Regions from separate parts of the Homo sapiens genome. Here region 2 is linked to region 1. Evidence: promoter capture Hi-C in 16 types of primary human blood cells and fetal thymus (Javierre and others, 2016). All regions are on one chromosome and are shown on one strand. Each heading gives the region's core, a stretch centred on a gene start or on the middle of the fragment in contact. The rest is flanking DNA. Distances are from core to core; before and after follow the strand shown.

Evidence for each region. Contacts are between HindIII fragments. The CHiCAGO score rates a contact against its expected background, and 5 or more counts as called.
Region 2: a fragment that was not itself captured here is called in contact with the fragment with the promoter of RUFY3 in region 1 in 1 of 17 cell types (M0 macrophages); the score reaches 5.5 in M0 macrophages.

What each region holds. Positions count from the first base shown.
Region 1 is chr4:70,719,263-70,724,384 of GRCh38, forward strand. RUFY3 (RUN and FYVE domain containing 3) reads left to right here and starts at 2,702. Exons shown (of 18, transcript NM_001037442.4): 1 at 2,702-3,489. The coding sequence starts at 3,312. The HindIII fragment of the contact is 24,519 bases long and covers 1-3,191 here.
Region 2 is chr4:70,924,868-70,929,989 of GRCh38, forward strand. All of the region lies in intron 1 of MOB1B (MOB kinase activator 1B), which reads left to right. Among named protein-coding and RNA genes, the nearest start is that of MOB1B, 25 kb to the left of the region's middle. The HindIII fragment of the contact is 2,588 bases long and covers 1,617-4,204 here.

The DNA of each region.
Region 1 (5,122 bases), core at 1,452-3,951:
TTAGTTGTTTTGGGCTTGCCTCTCTGTGTCCTCTACCTGGAGAGAGGCAGGGTGGGATGGATCTTCCGAAGGAATGTTAATCAAGTTTCTTGCTCACTAACCTTGATGTTCCTGTTGTGTTGGTATGTTGCAATCAATCTAGATCTGTTCAAGTTAGTAAATGCTTACTGGGGTGAAGAGATTGTTGTGGTTTGTGACAAGGCCAAATTCAGGTTTTGGACCCCAGACAATCACATGGCATTCGGATTTATTCATGTATTCCTTGTTCTGTTTTAAGAACATATCAGTGATCTAGAGTTTTGATATCACACATACAGATAGCTAGGGCTGTTTGGAGTTGTGGTTCCAGGAATGTCCCATGTAATTTGAAGGTTTTAATGACTACTTACTATGTTTTGAAGTATTGCATGATATAAAGTGAATCTATAAACTGTCCCCTTATTAATATATAATATGGGAATATTTTTGGCTAGAAAGGAATTGAACTGAATTAAATGAGAATGTGTTAAATGAAGGCTTGTGTTCAGTATTTGGATATGAAAATTCTGTTTCCTGGAAAAGGTGTTTCTGTCTTACTGCTGCGTGCCTAGTGCCTGGATCACTACCTGGCATGTGGAGCACCTCTTAGTGAATATCTGTTGAATGAATGAATGAATGAATGGCTCTGAGTCTAGATGTAGGGTAATGATGAGAGAGAATGAGATAGAAATAAAACCAGGAGTATTTTGCTTTCCTTAGTAACTTACTGATTTTCCCCAATTATAAATAAGCCTATATATATGCCTTCTTACATTGTACCAGTATACCCTCCTTCTTTTTTTTATTTTGAGACAGGGTAGAGTGCAGTGGTATGATCTCGGCTCACTGCAGCCTCTGCCTCCTGGCCTCACGTGATTCTTCCACCTCAGTCTCCCAAGTAGCTAGGACCACATGTGCGCGCAACCATACCTTGCTAATTTTTGTTTTTGTAGAGATGGAGTTTTGCCATGTTGCCCAGGCTGGTTTCAAACTCCTGAGCTCAAGCCATTCACCTGCCTCAGCCTCCCAAAGTGCTGGGATTACAGGCACATGCCACCACATCTGACTAATTTTTGTATTTTTAGTAGAGATGAGGTTTCACCATGTTGGCCAGGCTGGTCTCGAACTCCTGACCTCAGGTGATTTGCCCGCCTTGGCCTCCCAAAGTGCTGGTATTATAGGCATGAGCCACCGCGCCCAGCCATCCGCCCTGTCTTCGTAACAATATGAAAATGCCAGTTTCTCTACAGAATTTGATTATTAGCATTTTTTTCTTTCAGTTCAGTCTCAAATTATGATGAAGCATTTGAGATTTTAACAATATTCAAGGAGAATTTTTTTAGTTTTCAGAAATTAGGTAAATCAAGATGTCCCTCTGATAACAATCCCTAGAAAGGAATAGTCTCAGGTCATATTTCTTGAATTTGTATGTTCCTCCTTAAAATTGGAACCCTTCAATACAAAAACAAACAAACACTTTCTTTCAATTGTCCAAAACATTTTCAAAGAAAATTCTTATTCTTCTCTTTGTAATTTATGTAGTTCATAAAGCAAGTACCTGCCCTTTTGCTACCAAGGTATAAATGCCTCATTGGATAATATAGGGCCGTGTGTGTGTGTGTGTGTGTGTGTGTGTGTGTGTGTGTGTGTGTGTATTAAGAAAATATAATTGTCTTCAGTATCTTATCGAATGGGAGGATTTTAAAAATATAACATGGTTTAATCTGCTTAGAAACATATTTCATGCTTAAGGCTGGGCATGGTGGCTCACGCCTGTAATCCCAGCACTTTGGGAGGCTGAGGTGGGAGGATCATGAGGTCAGAAGTTCAAGACCAGCCTGGCCAAGATGGTGAAACCCCGTCTCTACTAAAAATACAAAAATTAGCTGGGCGTGGTGGTGGGTGCCTGTAATCCCAGCTACTCGGGAGGCTGAGGCAGAGAATTGCTTGGACCTGGGAGCTGAGATCACGCCACTGCACTCCAGCCTGGGCTACAGAGCAAGACTCTGTCTCAAAAAAGAAAAAAGAAAAAAAAAGAAACGTATTTTATGCTTAATACAGAAACTTGATAAATACAACAAAATCAAAAAGGGGGGAAATTGCCATTAATTGGGAAAGATTTTACTTTTTTAACTTGAAGTTTTTTTTTTGCATTTCTGCCTAACCTAAAAGGTCAGGTTTTTGTACCTTGGAGAAGGAAATTATAAATGCCCAAGAATAAGATATTTAAATTGAAAATCTACTTTAGCTTTTCTTTTTATCTTTTTGTTTTTTTTCCCTCTGAGAACCTCAATTTTTTATGCTTTAGCTTTTCTTAAAACATAACATTTAGCATAGTAAAGAATTTTAATAGCTATGTAGATAAGAATGAAAGAGGTGAATTATATGCTTGTTAAATTAATCTAACTGCCTCTTTTACCATCTTTACTATAGATTATTATCCGGTATTAATTGTCATCCTTTTATTCAGTCCTTGATCCCAAAGTAAGAAGAATTGATGAGGATATGTGCATTGTGTTATGTCTGATCACAGTTTGACTAGCACAGTCTGGAAGTGGGTTGTACAGGATGAGAGAGAGAAGCCTAATTGCTCTCCCAGCATCAGCAGCATCTATAAAGCATCCTGGGAATTGCTTGCCCTACGTTCAGAGCAGCTGGTCACATGAGCCTGAATTTTCAGTTCAGTTCATTAGTCAGCCATTTTGGTCAACACCCTGCTTACTGCGCACGGCCAATCCTATGAGAACTCAGCATCCCAGCTCATCTGAGCAGATCCTGGAAGTGATTTCTGCAGCTCAGGATTTTTTTTTTAAGCTACATTGAAAATATAGGTTTATTTTTTGTTCAGGTTTTTCTTTTATATTTTTTTTCTGCACAAAGGAGGAGGATTTTTCACTTACTCATATCGAGGCCAGATTTTTAAAGCCAGCTAAGGCAGCATCAGCTGTGCGGGATTTAAAGCCTATAGCTCAGCTGAAAAAAAAGGTGGGGGGCAGGGAAGGGAAGATAAAAGGAGAGGAAGCTGGGAGAAGACAAGCATCATCTTATTTTGCTATGTGGTAGGAACTGTCTATAAGATAGTGTAGAATTGTTTATCTTGAGCAGTTTGTTCTTAACCTATAAGGTATTTTTCCTTTTTTTTTTTTTTAAACCTCCCCCACCCTTTTCCTGAAAGCTTTGTTTCAGAGCTTTGTATTGGGTTTTTTTGGTGAGGAGGTTGTATTTATTTTTTTGGTGTGTGTGTGTGAGTGTGTGTGTGTCTGTGTGTGTGTTGTGGTCCCAGCTGAGTCATCATGTCTGCTCTGACGCCTCCGACCGATATGCCAACCCCCACCACTGACAAGATCACACAGGCTGCCATGGAGACCATCTACCTTTGCAAATTCCGAGTGTCCATGGATGGAGAATGGCTCTGCCTGCGAGAGCTGGATGACATCTCACTTACACCTGACCCAGAGCCTACCCATGAAGGTATGGTCAGATCCTGTCCGCTAGTATTTCACCAGCATCCTCATTGTTATGGGGGAGGGCTGGGAGGATCAGGGAGAGGTAGAAAGAACCTACACTCTCAACTGTTAACAGTCCTGAAAACCTTGCATCCTTACTTACCACCCAGCTCCCCTTCTCTTGCTCATGGGGGAAAGATAATTTTTTTTCTTGCCCCTTTAGGTATCCTTTCAAAAGATGCTGGATACTCGTTTAGAGTTCTTTGTCTTTAAGCCTCTAAATAAAACATTTGAGGTCACTTATCACATCTGATTCTATTCAATAATGAGAAAGCTATTAATTTTGTTCATATATGAAAATGTTATAGAAATTGTAGTGATTTATAACACTAAGTTAAGACAACATGACTATAATTATAGGATTGTACATGATGAATACAGTAGAAACACCAGGGTATTTGGTAATGGTATCCTCACCATTATATGAGGATACAATTTTAAGCAAGTTATGACATCTAGGAAATGTTTGATAAAACATTTTTTTAACAATATGGATTATTAGGTTAGATGAGAAAATAACTTTTCAGCATTTATTTATTGAATATGGACTCCTAAGAAAGCATAATGCCTGGAAAGGTTAAATATGATTAATATGGCATCCCTATAGATTACAATAGAATGGTAATATTGGAATCTATTGGCCATTGCTTTTTATAAATTATTTGTGGTAACTATTATGATCCATTTGAGATTTCCACTGTCAGTACCTCTGAGATCTTTGTGGTCTCTTGACTTGCGACTTTTTTCCAGGACTCTTGCTAATTTATGAGAGGTTTTCTGCTTCTACCCTTTAATTCTCTTAATACCACAGAAAGAGAGCTGATTTGAATCATAGCTACAAATCGTTTTGTTTTTAATACAGTTGCTTCTTAGCTAAGGTTTATTCTCTGTCCTTATACTGATGAAAAAAAACAAAAAACGCTTGCATATGAGGAGAAATTCTTTATAAACATCTGCCTGATAGTTAGGCACATCGACAGGACAAAGAAGACCATAGGTGAATTGTACCTAGCAGATGGGGTTAGGAAAGGTGATTCTCTGCCTTTGACCTTGAGTTGAAATCTTATCATGACTCAGAATTTTCCCATTGTGTTTGATAAGCATTTTATCTTCCCAGTCAGCCTTAGCCTTGAGAAAGTTTTAGGGATGGTTAATAACACAGAACACAAAGCAGTCATTTTGGGTGTGTCTTTAAGAACAATGTTTAAGTGGTTTTTAAGACCCTTTGCATCTTTTAACAATTGGTTTGTTAATTAGACAGCTTTCTTTGGCTGTATGTTTCGTTATGTGCACAAGTTATAAGACATCAGCTGAAATTCCATGCAATGCCAGTACTATTTATTTTTTATTATTATTTTATTCTATATTTTCATCAAAACATCGTTACATCCAACAATTCCAGTACTACTTAAAACAGCCTCCAAAGCTTTAAAAGTCTTTAGGGAAGAAAAATACAGTTTTAGAAGGCTACCAAGAAGTCTTCTGGCAACTGCCTCAGTTTACATATTTTGTTTGAAAAAAATGTATTCCCGTCCAATTTGAGAGTTATACAATATGAAATATTCCCTTTATCATGAAATCTAGTTTACCAGTGTCTC
Region 2 (5,122 bases), core at 1,661-4,160, 210 kb after region 1:
AATTTCTTAATCCAGTCTATCATTGATGGACATTTGGGTTGAAGAACCAACATTTTTTAAAAATTATATTTCTAATTATAGTTAGAACCAAACTATACAAAAAAACTACAATTTTAAACAGCTAGACATTTGGGAACCAAAATTTGCTTTAGTTGAGCTCTATTGATTTTATTTTATTTTTATTTTATTTTTTTGAGATGGAGTCTTGCTCTGTAACTCAGGCCAGAGTGCAATGGCGCAATCTGGGCTCACTGCAACCTCCACCTCCTGGGTTCAAGTGATTCTCCTGCCTCAGCCTCCTGAGTAGCAGAGACTTACAGGTGTGTGCCCGGCTAATTTTTGTATTTTTAGTAGAGACGGGGTTTCACCATATTGGCCAGGCTGGTCTTGAACGCCTGACCTCTGGTGATCTGCCCTCCTCAGGCTCCCACAGTGCTGGGATTACGGGCATGAGCCACCATGCCTGGTGAGCTTTATTGATTTTAGCTTTCTTTCAAGTGGGAATGTATTTGTAAGGTGTTGTCTAGGGATAACTATACTTGTTAGTGATGTCTTTGCCTTTTTTGATATCACTTAACATTAAGGAAGAAAAATACCACTGTCATTTTATGTAGCAGAAGAAAAACTGCTCTTGGTCCTCTGGTGACAGAAAGTACTCTCAGGATTGAGAGGATCAGTGTCTCTACATAACCATAATCCTTGAGAAGTTTGCTGTAGACTCTCAAAGTGTGGATCTTTGGCACCACCTAGGAGTATGTTTGAAATGCAGGATTTCGGGTCCTAATCATTGGATTATAATGCATTTTAATAAGATCCCTAGGTGATTTGAAAGCACCTTCCAAAGTGGATGCCTGTATATTTAATTTAAATGGTTTGAGATAAGGTGAATAAGAAAAATCCTTGGATTCAATATAACACCAGTTCTGTCTTTGAGAGATTCCCAATAAGGGAGCCTCAATGTAGATCCCCGTACTGTCCTTTCACACTTGCAATTATTTTCTTGTTTAATGTGTTTTTTTCTCCTTCTGGATTCTAAGTTTTCTCCTCCTGGACTGAGGGTTTGTTCATCATTTTATTTCCCAGCACATTAGGACATTGCTTAGCAAATATGTTTTCAATAATTTTCTTATTTGTGTGAGTGACAGGATCTCACTCTGTCACCGAAGCTGGAATGCAGTGGTATCTTCTCAGCTCACTGCAACCTCAACCTCCTGGGCTCGTGATTCTTCCACCTCAGCTTCCTGAGTAGCCGGGACTTTAGGTGTGTGCCACCATGCCTGGATAATTTTTGTATCTTTTGTAGAGACAGGGTTTTGCCATGTTGTCCAGGTGGTCTTGAACTCCTGGGCTCAAGCAGTCCGTCCACCTTGGCCTCCCAAGTGCTGGGATTACAGCCATTTTTTTTTTTTTTTTAATTAACTGAAGATTGTCATGGGAGAGAACAGTGGCCTATGAGTGAGGAAATCCGAGATTCAGAGTCTTTGGTCTGTCACTAGCTATGTGACCTTGGGCAGATGACTTAATTTCTTAGTTTCTATTTCCTCTGCCTACTGGAGGGTAACGAATGCTTCTTCCATTGGGTTAATGTGAGACTTGAATGACAGAATGTATATGAAAGCTTTTCATAAACCAGAGTCCTGTATAAACACTGTCATTATCTCCACTCATGAAATTCCCAAGCCCAGTGTATAAACTGTTTGTGCATTCCAGTTTTTTGTTTAGCTGTCTTACAAATGTATGGCATTATTGCATAATAAAATGAACATTTATTGAACACCTCCTGTGTGTAAAAGCGAAGTGTTAGGTGCTTGCTGGTGGTGGGAGGAGAAAGGAAGGGGTTTAGAAATAAACAAGATGTGCCGGGCGCAGTGGCTCACGCCTGTAATCCCAGCATTTTGGGAGGTGGATCATGAGGTCAGGAGATCGAGACCATCCTGGCTAACACGGTGAAACCCCGTCTCTACTAAAAATACAAAAAAATTAGCCGGGCGTGGTGGTGGGCGCCTGTAGTCCCATCTACTTGGGAGGCTGAGGCAGGAGAATGGCGCAAACTCAGGAGGTGGAGCTTACAGTGAGCCGAGATTGTGACACTGCACTCCGGCCTGGGCAACAGAGCAAGACTCCGTCTCAAAAAAGAAAAAAAAAAAAAGAAATAAGATGCGGTCTCTGTCCTCAAGAATCTTAGCACTGGAGACCAGCGTGTTACATAGATGTGCTCCTTAATGGTTGTTTTAAACTCTCAGTTCCAAGTCCACTGGCTAATGATGGTTAAAGACCCTTGCACTGCAAGATATTGCATTGAGTATACAAACTTTCTTGGGTGTATGTGTGAAATAATTGCAGTCTGTGTTCATCAAAAATTAGGAATATAAAGAAAAAAATTGCTGTCAGCCAGGCGCAGTGGCTCATGCCTGTAATCCCAGCACTTTGGGAGGCTAAGGTGGGCAGATCATCTGAGATCAGGAGTTCGAGACCAGCCTGGCCAACATGATGAAACCCCCGTCTCTACTAAAAATACAATAATTAGCCAGGCATGGTGGCACTCGCCTGTAATCCCAGCTACTTGGGAGGCTGAGGCAGGAGAATCGCTTGAACCTGGGAGGCGGAGGTTGCAGTGAGCTGAGATCATGCCACTGTACCCCAGCCTGGGCAACAGAGTGAGAATCTGTCTCAAAAAAAAAAAAATTGCCGTCAATACCACAGTTATAAATATGTGTAGTGCATTCACCTATTCAAAACAGCAAGAATTTTGCCGAATTGAGCTTCCGGTTTTTAGTCAGATGCTGTTTTTATTGTGTGGATGCGGGGGCCTCCCCTGCTTGTTCTTGGCATTGCTGCCACTGCTGTTCCACTTTAGCATCTTGGTTTTTAACATGGAGGGGAAGTGGTAGGAATCCTTCGGTGCACTCGCTTCCTGTAGTTCACTTGGGCATTTCAGGTAGATATTGGAATGGGCTGGAAGTGGTCTGCAAAACTCCAAGGCATAGAAGGCCTCCCTGAGATGTTTGCTTACCACTCCAGCCTCATCCGTGCCTTCCTGCTCTAACATCCCTCCCCCACAGTGTTCAGTGATTTTATTTGCATTTCTCTCAACCTGCTTTGCTCCATCTTTCTGCCTTTGTAAATGCCGTTCCTGTTATTCTGGCTGTTATTCTTCTCCTCCCCACCCCCATTTCTTTAGCTCAGGAGCCAACTTTTTCCCTGGCCTGTGCCCCCTTCCCAGTTTGTTAGATACCATTTCAGTGCCCTTTATAGTCCTTATCATAGTCCTTTCCAAAAAGACATTGTACTCCACCCACTGTCATGTGTATGATCTCTTTGAAGATGGGGCATTTTCAAAAAATGTTTGTTTTAAATCTCTACCACCTAGCATAGTGCCTCTTAGTAACAATTTTTTTTCCTGACTAATCAATGACATTTTCAAGAATTTTGTTTTTTTTTTTTTTGAGATGGAGTCTTGCTGTGTCACCTAGGCTGGAATGCAGTAGTGTGATCTCGGCCCACTGCACCCTCTGCCTCCCGGGTTCAAGCGATTCTCCTGCTTCAGCCTCTTGAGTAGCTGGGATTACAGGCGCGTGCCACCATGCCCGGCTAATTTTTTGTATTTTTAGTAGAGATGGAGTTTCACCATGTTGTTCAGGCTGGTCTCGAACTCTTGACCTCGTGATCCACCGCCTCAGCCTCCCAAAGTGCTGGAATTACAGGTATGAGCCACCACACGTGGCCTGACATTTTCAAGAATTTCATCACGGGTGGTGAGAGTATGAGTGATTCTCCTCAGTCTGTTGTATGTTTTTCCATTGTAAAGATTTTAGGGAAAATATTAAAAGGTGGCTACTGTGCACAGAAGAGTTTAGAATACCTATTTATTGGATTTTTATAATAAAAAAACTTTTTTTTAATAGACACGGGGTCTTGCTATGTTACCTAGGCTTGTCTTGAACTCCTAGGTTCAAGTGATCCTCCCACCTTGGCCTCCCAAAATGCCGATATTACTGGCGTGAGCCCCTGCACTCAGCCTTATTTATTGTATCTTTATCACATAGTTTTGTAGAGACCTTCTTTACAGGATTGTCATATACCAGGCACAAGTTTCCTATTTTCCAATGTGCCCTGTAAATTGTGTTCCCTCTACCAGGGAATGAGAGTGCTCATTTCCCTGCATTCCCACTATCATTGCATCATTAAGAAAAAGAGTCATGAAAGCTTCTTGGACTTTTAAAATTAATGCCAAATAAACAAGATAATAGTAAAGGTACTTCCAAATAATTTCTGTCCCCTGTATTTCTTTTCTTCTTTTTCTTTTCTTTCTTTCTTTTTTTTTTTTTTTTTTGAGACAATCTTGCTGTCACCCAGGCTGGAGTGCAGTGGCGTGATCTTGGCCCACTGCAAGCTCCACCTCCCAGGTTCAAGTGTTTCTCCTGCATTAGCCTCCCAAGTAACTGGGATTACAAGTGTGTGCCACCACGCCCGGCTAATTTTTGTGTTCTTAGTAGACAAGGGATTTTCCCATGTTGGCCAGGCTGATCTCCAACTCCTGACCTCAAGTGATCTGCCCACCTTGGCCTCCCGAAGGATTACAGGTGTGAGCCACTGCATCTGGCCAATTTAATTTTATTATTTTATTTTTGGAGATAAGGTCTTGCTCTGTGGCTGAGTCTGTAGCACAGTGGCCCAACAACTGCTTATTGTGGCCTCCACCTCCTGGGCTCAGATGATCCTCTTACCTCAGCCTCCTGAGTAGCTGGGACCACAGGTACACGTCACCACACCAAGCTAATTTTTTTTTTTTTTTTGAGATGGAGTCTCACTCTGTCGCCCAGGCTGGAGTGCAGTGGCGCGATCTTGGCTCACTGCAAGCTCCGCCTCCTGGGTTTACGCCATTCTCCTGCCTCAGCCTCCCGAGTAGCTGGGACTACAGGCACCCGCCACTGCGCCCAGCTAATTTTTTGTATTTTTAGTAGAGACGGGGTTTCGCCGTGGTCTCGATCTCCTGACCTTGTGATCCGCCCGCCTCGGCCTCCCTTAATACAGCCACTGCGCCCAGCCTTAATTTTTAAAATTTTTTGTAGAGACAGCGTCTCCCTATGTTGCCCAGGGTGGTCTTGAAGTCCTGGGCTTG